Regions from separate parts of the Homo sapiens genome. Here regions 1 and 2 are each linked to region 3. Evidence: promoter capture Hi-C in 16 types of primary human blood cells and fetal thymus (Javierre and others, 2016). All regions are on one chromosome and are shown on one strand. The core of a region is centred on a gene start or on the middle of the fragment in contact, and the rest is flanking DNA. Distances in the headings are between cores, read along the strand shown. Region 1 overlaps TMEM11 (transmembrane protein 11). Region 2 overlaps USP22 (ubiquitin specific peptidase 22). Region 3 holds the start of DHRS7B (dehydrogenase/reductase 7B).

Region 1 (2,700 bases), core at 145-2,644, 72 kb after region 3:
GGAATGATGAGGCCAAGGTGAGCCAGGAGACTGCTCCTGGGCGGGGTTTGGCCCCAGGACTACCTTGGATCTAGGCTTGTCGTCGCTGTAAGTGGTAACACTGGGCCGCAGCTAGGAGCAGGGCAGGGTGGCTACCATGGCACCTGCTCCTTCCATGTGCAAGCCGCCACCCAGAGCAGATGTGCAGCAGCAGCTGCGGGCAGTCATGGAAAGAGAGAACAGCGGGAGTTGAAATTCTCATAATTTTAATGATCAATAGCTTCTGGTGGGCTCTGGATGGTACAGTTAAACAATAGACTTAAAGACCTCCCCCAAAGCACGTCCACACCCCCTCGGCAGCGTCTGCCTCCATCAGCATTCCACTGCCCAGTCGGACTTCCACAGCCTCAGACCCCCCTCTTGGGTTATGGAAATCCACATCTTAGTGTAATGAGCTGAAAAACCCTGGGTACACCCGTGATCTGTTATTTTTTAAAAATAACAAATACTAAGCCAAACACCTGCCCAGGCTCTGCTGCCTCACAGAGTGTGGCGATCTGAATACTCTGTTGTCTCTTGTGGGCCGGGTGGTTTTGCTTCGCTCCCTGTTCTACTGAAATCATACGGCATAGAGTTCGTAAATCTTCTTTACACAGTACACCAGGGCGGCCAGTGCTATCGTGTTGTGCAGTCTCTTTCTGTGCAGGTCGTCCTTCCGGACCAGCACCACCGGGGTGGAGGAGGTGAGTGTGTGCAGAGGCAGGCGCGACAGTTTATAGGCGTCGTACTCCACTTGGTACTTGCAGCAAGGGTCAAACTGCCAGGAGATCCCATAGAGGGTGCAGCAGGCCAGGCTCAGCACACCAGCGGGCAGGGAAATGTAGTGGGAATAATCTAAGGGCAGCGCCAACGGGGTGAAGAGGCAGGCGGTGCCCGCCAGCACGGCCGTCTTGTGCAGGCAGTTGCCCACGGTGATCCAGCGGGCTGTCTCGTCGCCAATGCGAGTGGGCTCAATCACAATGTACTTGTACTGGGCTTCCAGGGCCTGCTCCAGCTCGTACTCAAACTGGTCTTGGGCATTCTCCCCATTGTAGATCTCATGCACAATGTAGCAGTCTGTGGCCGACAAGCTCACCCTTTTGATGGAGGGGGCAGGAAAGGGAGAGAGAGAGAGAGACAGGATGATTAGGCTGAGGAGCACTTAACTGTGTTTCAGCGCTGGGGGAGGTCTGAGCCTGCACTGCGGAGAGCACATCTCACTTGGGTCCTCATCTCCTTTAAATCCCAACACAAGATAATCAGTAAAAAGGATTTTTCCTGAAAATAGTGAAATAAAGCTGGGTGTGGTGGCTCACACCTGTAATCCTAGCACTTTGGGAGGCCGGGGGGGCGGATCATGAGGTCAGGAGTTAGAGACCAGCCTGGCCAACATGGTGAAACCCTGTCTCTACTAAAGATACAAAAAAAAATTAGCCAGGTGTGGTGGCGCATGCCTATAATCCCTGTAATCTACTCGGGAGGCTGAGGCAGGAGAATCACTTGAACCTGGGAGGCGGAGCTTGCAGTGAGCCGAGATCGTGCCATTGCACTCCAGCCTGGGTGACAGGGCGAGACTCAGTCTCAGAAAAAAAAAAAAAAAAAAGATATAAAAAGGCAGGAAAAGCAGTGCCTCGACGTTTAACATGACAAACACAGGCCTGGTGGTTAGCCTAAGGCTGTGGACCAACTGATCTGAGTCAGCAAAGGAGCCTAAAGGGGAAAGAACGATTCGGCACAGAATCACAGGAGCACACACGGCAGCAGAGGGCCAACAGCCTGAAAGCCATTCTTAGTTAATCAGGGCAACTGCAAGAGGATTCTTCACTGGAAACCACAGACCTCAGGACAGATAATGCTAAGCCCTTGCCCTCCGCACGTTTCCTAAGTAGTCATCCTGGGCCTGCAGAACAGAGGCAGAAAGGAAGAGCTTTGCCTTGGGCGAATGAAATCCAAACTCCTTTGGCTCTCCTGGAGGCCAGGCTGCACAAGCCCTGGGTGCCCTTCCTGGGCCGGCAGCAGCCCCCAGCTCCTCCCCGCTGCGGAGGGGAGAAGAGGAGACCCAGGACACTAGCCCACTGCATAGGAAAAGCGACCCTTTCCTTGAATTAGGAAAAGACAACGCTTCAAGAACAGTAGTGGGCTCCAAATTTAGTAAGCAGGAGGGTCAACTGAGGGGCTTCAAAACATCCAGCCCAGCAATGCCACCAATTCTGGCCCTGTAGGCCCAGGCCCCTGCACCACCGGCAAATGCCACTCATTTGCATAAGAAACACTGCCACGGAGACCACACAAGGGGCTTTCCCCCCCGGGACTGGGGATGCATGTCATGACCCCAACCAGCAGGAGAGTAATCCACCACACGGAACGCTCAGCTCTGCAGCAAGGCCAGACGGCAGCCCGGCTGCAGCCCCAGCAGTGACCGTGGGCCAAGCTGCATTTCAGGCAGTCTTGCTTTTCTTGGTTTCAGGCCTCTGCGGTACAAATTTCCCACCCAAAGCAGAATCTTCTTCACCTGTGGCGGGCAGGCCTGAAGACAGGGCTATCCATGCCTTGTCATCTTTCCTTGGCTGGTTTCAGCTGAGACAGATCTCTCTGAATCTCCGCACCGTCACCCCACATCCTAGTTTTCCGTTATCTGCTCATCTGCAAGAAGTCTTTATCTGGGCCTTGACGGGGACACTG
Region 2 (2,749 bases), core at 126-2,625, 92 kb before region 3:
ACCACCTTAAGAGCTAGTGCACTTTTCACACATTACCCATGACTTCCTACTGGTCTAAAACCTGAGCATCTTAGGAAGGTAAGTTTAATTCTTGTGCATTCTCTTCAGTGACTTTTTCAAGGACTCAAACACTGACATAAGTGAAGGGACAGGTATAATTTTTTTTTTTTTTGAGAAGGAGTCTTGCTCTGTCACCAGGCTGGAGTGCAGTGGCGTAATCTCCGCTAACTGCAACCTCCGCCTCCCGGGTTCAAGTGATTCCCCTGCCTCAGCCTCCCGAGTATCTGGGACTACGGGCGCGTGCCACCATGCTCGGCTAACTTTTTGTATTTTAGTACAGATGAGGTTTCACCATGTTGGCCAGGATGGTCTTGAACTACTGACCTCAAGTGATCCACCCACCTCAGCCTCCCAAAGTGCTGGGATTACAGGCATGAGCCACCGTGCCCGGCCTAAATATTCTATCCTTTATATGAAAAAAAAAATACGGCACTAAAAAGCTAAAGACTTTGCCAAAATTAGATAATCTTCTCAAATTAAGTTCCCCAACCTCAAAAACCTCAGCTTCCAGACTCAGGCCCCTCAATCTCGGAGCCAAAATCAATCTAAGGGTACAGCGACTCCAGACCTTTCAATTTACAGAAGGGGTAATTTCATTCAGCAAAGGCAAGACCTCAGACTGACCTCATTTCAAGGCTGGGACCCAGCAGTTGCCGGTGATGTCCTTGGACAGGTCAGGAGACTTACTTGCCAGGCCTACCTAAAAAGTGTATCCCAACTACCAAAACCAGAAGGAAATTACGTATGAAATATAAAATATCACAGCAGTCCTCCCTTACCTACAGTTCCGCTTGCTGTGGTTTCAGTTACCCACAGTCAACCTCAGTCTGAAAATAGTAACATGGAAATGCCAGAAATAAACAATTCATAAGCTTTAAACTGCCCGCCGTTCTGAGAAACATGATGAAACTGAGTGACATCCCGCTCTGTCCCATGACCATCCCTTTGTCCAGCTTCTCCGTGCCATCTAGGCCACCTGCCCGTTAAGTCACTTGGTAGCTGTCTTGCTGATCACATCAACTGTTGCGGATGTGATCACGGATAAAAGTGAACACAAGCCACTTTTATTTGGCTTAATATGGCCCCAAAGCTCAAGAGTACTGATGCTGCAATTTGGATATGCCAAAGAAAAGCCATAAAGGGCTTCTTTTACGTGAAAAGGTAAAAATTCTTAATAAGAAAACAATATCAAATAACAAGGTTGCTAAGATCTACAGTAAGAACAAATCTATCCATGAAATTATGAAGGAAAAAAGTTTGCACGTAATACAAATGGGGTTCAGTATTATCTGTGGTTTCAGACAACTACCGGAGGTCTTGGAATGTATCCCTCAAGGATGGGGGTGAGTACTCTATTATCATAAACAGGAAATGAGGAAGCCCAAGAGATGCTGTGCTGAGGGACACACACTTGGACGGAAGCAAACTGGGGCAAAATCCTCCTGGTACTGACCAGCTTAGGCTAGTCTTCCTTTAAATTGAGCTCACCTCACACAACTGTCAATTACACATGTATGGGGAGCAATCACATTATCCTAAAGCCTCATTTTAATCTACCATTCTCACTTAATTCTCTGAGTTTCTTACCAGAGCTGCTAACATATAATAATAAAACTCACACTCAATTCTATCTCAATTTCTACTCTTCAGCACCCTCTGCTACAGGTACTGGCCAACATAAAACAAGAGGCAAGAAAAAGACTCACATATCCATTAGGCGGGTCATTTTAATCCTTGAAAACTGAGTTTACTTCCTACCTAAGCTTCCATCCGCTTAATACCAAGGTGATCAAGTCTGTGTGCTAAATACAGGAAAAGCCTTAATAGGAGACCCTGCTACCAATTTGTAGGAAATAGGACAAAAAAAAAACAAACCACAACACTTTGAACTTCCACTGTTGAGTATGCAAACAGCAAAATCCAGACTATAGGGAAGTCAACAAGTCACAAGGCCCAAGTTTTTCAACAGATAAAGTAGAAGCAAAAAACTGTAAGAAAGGAATGAAGAGAGAACCTACAGATTAAGAAACTTAAACGACTTACCAGTATAGCCACATGATAAATACCATTAAAAGAAAAAGGAATGAACTTTCGGCTGGGCGCGGTGGCTCACGCCTGTAATCCCAGCACTTCGGGAGGCTGAGGCAGACAGATCACAAGGTCAGGAGATCGAGACCATCCTGGCTAACACAGTGAAACCCAGTCTCTACTAAAAATACAAAAAAATTAGCTGGGCGTGGTGGCAGGCGCCTGTAGTCCCAGTTACTCGGGAGGCTGAGGCAAGAGAATGGCGTGAACCCAGGAGGCGGAGCTTGCAGTGAGCCGAGATCGCACCACTGCACTCCAGCCTGGGCGACAGAGCAAGACTCCGTCTCAAAAAAAAAAAAAAAAAAAAAAAAAGGAATGAACTTTCAATCCACTCAATGGATACAATGGATATTGCTAGACAAAAGAAGCCAGTATGAAAAGGCTACAGACTGTATGAACCCAATGATATGACATTCTGGAAAGGGAAAAACCTCCGAGATGGAGACGAGACCAGTGGTTGTGGAGAGTTAGAAGGTGAAGCACAGGGATTTCTTGGGGCAGTGCAACTGTTCTGTACAGTACTGTAGTTGTGGATGCCTCTGTCAAAATCCACTGAGCTTTAAAGCACAAAGAGCAAACCTTAATATATGCGATTTTAAAA
Region 3 (2,700 bases), core at 70-2,569:
CATATTGGGTTTGCTACAAGGATATTCAAACTTTGTGAATTGGCAAGCAGGAATCTAGAGTTTCCAGAACAATGGAGAGGGGCCAGAAAGGTATAAAAACTTTTGTGAAAACGTCAAAAATAAATATTTAGTTAAAAATAAAATTTCCCATTTTCAGATTTTGTGAATATCTGTAAGAATTTCCAGGATATATTAATTCGCTAAAGTTAATAAAAGCAAGAAACAGAAGGACGTTTCAGAATGCTATTGTTTGTGTAACAAGGGGGTGCTGAATACATACATAATTGCTTGGTTATGAATAAACTGGCTCTGGAAGGACACACATAGCTAATAGCATCGTTACCTAGGGGGAGGTGAAGTGGGTCCTGGAGAACAGAAAGGGAGATTTTCCACCTTACACACATTTGCCATCTTATGATTTTGAACGATAAGAGTCCCCCCGCCCCTTCCTTCCTCTGCCCTGCCCCTTCCTTCCTCTGCCCTTTACTCTCTCAATATCCTCTTTTCATGCTTTTTTTTTTTTTTTAAATCACTTCGGGTCCTTTAAAAAATTTACTTGCAAGAAGTACGTACATATTCTGAATAAAATTCATTTTCAGATATATGTATTACAAATATCTTGTCTGTTCTATTGTCTTTCCCTTTTCTCAATGGGGTCTTTTCGGTGTCTTATAGTTACAGACACCCAATTTATCAGCTTTTTCCTTTAGGACTGGCACTTTTTGTGTTCTGCTAACACGTTATTTTCCTCTCTTATGGTCATAATATTCTGCGATTTTATTGTCTAGAGTTGTATTGTTCACATTCAGGTCTACCATCCGTCTAGAATTATTTTACTTGAGATAGGAGTCAAGGTTCATTTCCCCCCAATCGACCTTCAATTGACCTAGCACTATATATTGAAAAAACTCTTCTTATTGCATTACAGTGGCTACTTGTAGGAGGAAAAAGTGACTACATAGCTGCAGGTCTGTTTCTGGTCTCTCTCTTTTTCATTCATTGTTTTTACCTTTGTGCCAGTTATCACACTGTTCTGATTACTGTGGCATTATAATCATCTTGATAACTGTATCGTGAATTCTCCAACTGTGTTCTTCGCCGGAAGTCCACGGAACACCAACCACGACCTTCGGAATTTCCCTCCGGAAGATGAAGGCACTGTAGTTATGCGGGTGGACCCTATCAGATCTCGGGTCCATCGGGTCCTGTGTACACCTTGAGGGACGCCCACCCAACGCGCATGCGCAGCCTCAATGCTGGGATTGGACGGAGCCTCGCCGGCTGCGTACACGTCACTTCCGAGGCGGGAGGATGAAGTTGATTGACTATGGTCTCTCCGGCTACCAGGTAGGGGCTGGGGAAGAAGGAACCTCCGAGATGAGGCGATAGGGTCTGGCCTTGAGCTGAGGCGACGCCCCGGCTTGGGTGAGGGGAAGCGGTGTAGTGGTCGAGCTAAGGCCGCGGGCCCTGGGCGGCTTCCGGATCCCCGCGACGCCGAACTCTGAAGGAAGACTCAGCCCAGGCGCTGGGACCAGAGCCCTGGCTCCGGCGAGTGCGTGGCGGGGAAACCCGCCTGTCGCCGAGGTGTCTTGAGTCCAGTTTCCGCTGCTGGGAATGGGTGTCGCGCCGGGCGCTGTGTGTGAAAGGCCTCGCGCCCACAGGGCTCCTGGCTTCAACCTGTTTATTCCCACATTTCTGCGCGACGTAGGGGAGGCTCCGCAGCGTCTGCGAGTGGCAGGACCGAGGGTTGAGCGCTGGGGGCCAGTGGCACCTTAGCCAGTGACGGCGAGTTAGGACTAGCAAAGGAAGTCCGGTTTTTCAGAAGGCAGGAGGAGGGTGCTGACTCGAGCGTCCACGGGAATGGCTGGTTGAGATATCTTGCTCTTCCAATACTTACTCTGCGGCTTCCTGGCTGTGCGGCTTTGGGCAAATGTTTTAAACTCTGAGTGTTTCTTCAGCTGTAACTTTGGGAGTAACAAGCCCACTCATAAGGTTGTTGTGAAGCGTAAATGAGACTGCGCGTGCAAGGTGCTCAGCTGGTGTCTGGCACATAGTAGGTATTCAACAAATGGTAGCCACATAATGCTCTTTTTTTCAGTTTCCAAACCTTCCATGTAGTGATTGGAGAATCGTGAAGTTACTTTTGAAGTAACGTTTGGGTTTCACACACTCATACATTTAGTAAGCAGAATTCTTGCTTACACTGTTGCCGATTGCAACGGTGTGTTTGCATAATGGAAGCTATGTTTGTGCCTTTGCCAAGGGTGTGGAATATGCCTTCCCTACCATGTACATGTCCCCTTTTCTCCATTCCTTAATAATAGTTGATATTTTTTGAGTGTTTGCTATGTTACAGGCACTGTACTAATCCCTTTACTGAATTATTCAATCCTGTAATAACCCTAATCATAGGAACTATAATTTTTATTTATGGAGGGAGAAATGGGCTTAGAGATGTTAAGAAGTTTATCCAAAGGCATAGAGCTATTAGCCAGGCAAGGTAGCACACGCCTGTAGTCCCAGCTATTTGTTGGGGCTGAGGCAAGTGGATTGCTTGAACCTGGGAGACAGGCTGCAGTGAGCCGAGATCACGCCATTGCATTCAAGTCTGGGTGACAAAGTGAGACCCTGTCTTGGCTGGGCGCAGTGGCTCACACATGTAATCCCAGCACTTTAGGAGGCTGAGGCGGGCGGATCACC

Evidence for each region. The method cuts DNA at HindIII sites, captures the fragments that hold promoters and counts their contacts. A CHiCAGO score of 5 or more calls a contact.
Region 1: a contact is called between a fragment that was not itself captured here and the fragment with the promoter of DHRS7B in region 3, in 5 of 17 cell types (monocytes, megakaryocytes, neutrophils and 2 more). The highest score is 6.9, in monocytes.
Region 2: a contact is called between a fragment that was not itself captured here and the fragment with the promoter of DHRS7B in region 3, in 2 of 17 cell types (monocytes and fetal thymus). The highest score is 6.7, in monocytes.

The regions. Positions count from the first base shown.
Region 1 is chr17:21,197,726-21,200,425 of GRCh38, forward strand. It overlaps TMEM11 (transmembrane protein 11), which reads right to left. Exons shown (of 2, transcript NM_003876.3): 2 at 229-1,115. The coding sequence ends at 599. Among named protein-coding and RNA genes, the nearest start is that of TMEM11, 15 kb to the right of the region's middle. RefSeq lists an enhancer at 1,177-1,974. The HindIII fragment of the contact is 3,903 bases long and covers 1-2,700 here.
Region 2 is chr17:21,033,596-21,036,344 of GRCh38, forward strand. All of the region lies in intron 1 of USP22 (ubiquitin specific peptidase 22), which reads right to left. Among named protein-coding and RNA genes, the nearest start is that of USP22, 8.0 kb to the right of the region's middle. RefSeq lists an enhancer at 307-808 and a silencer at 830-949. The HindIII fragment of the contact is 891 bases long and covers 931-1,821 here.
Region 3 is chr17:21,125,645-21,128,344 of GRCh38, forward strand. It overlaps DHRS7B (dehydrogenase/reductase 7B), which reads left to right and starts at 1,320. Exons shown (of 7, transcript NM_015510.5): 1 at 1,320-1,347. The coding sequence starts at 1,328. RefSeq lists an enhancer at 982-1,641. The HindIII fragment of the contact is 14,531 bases long and covers 1-2,700 here.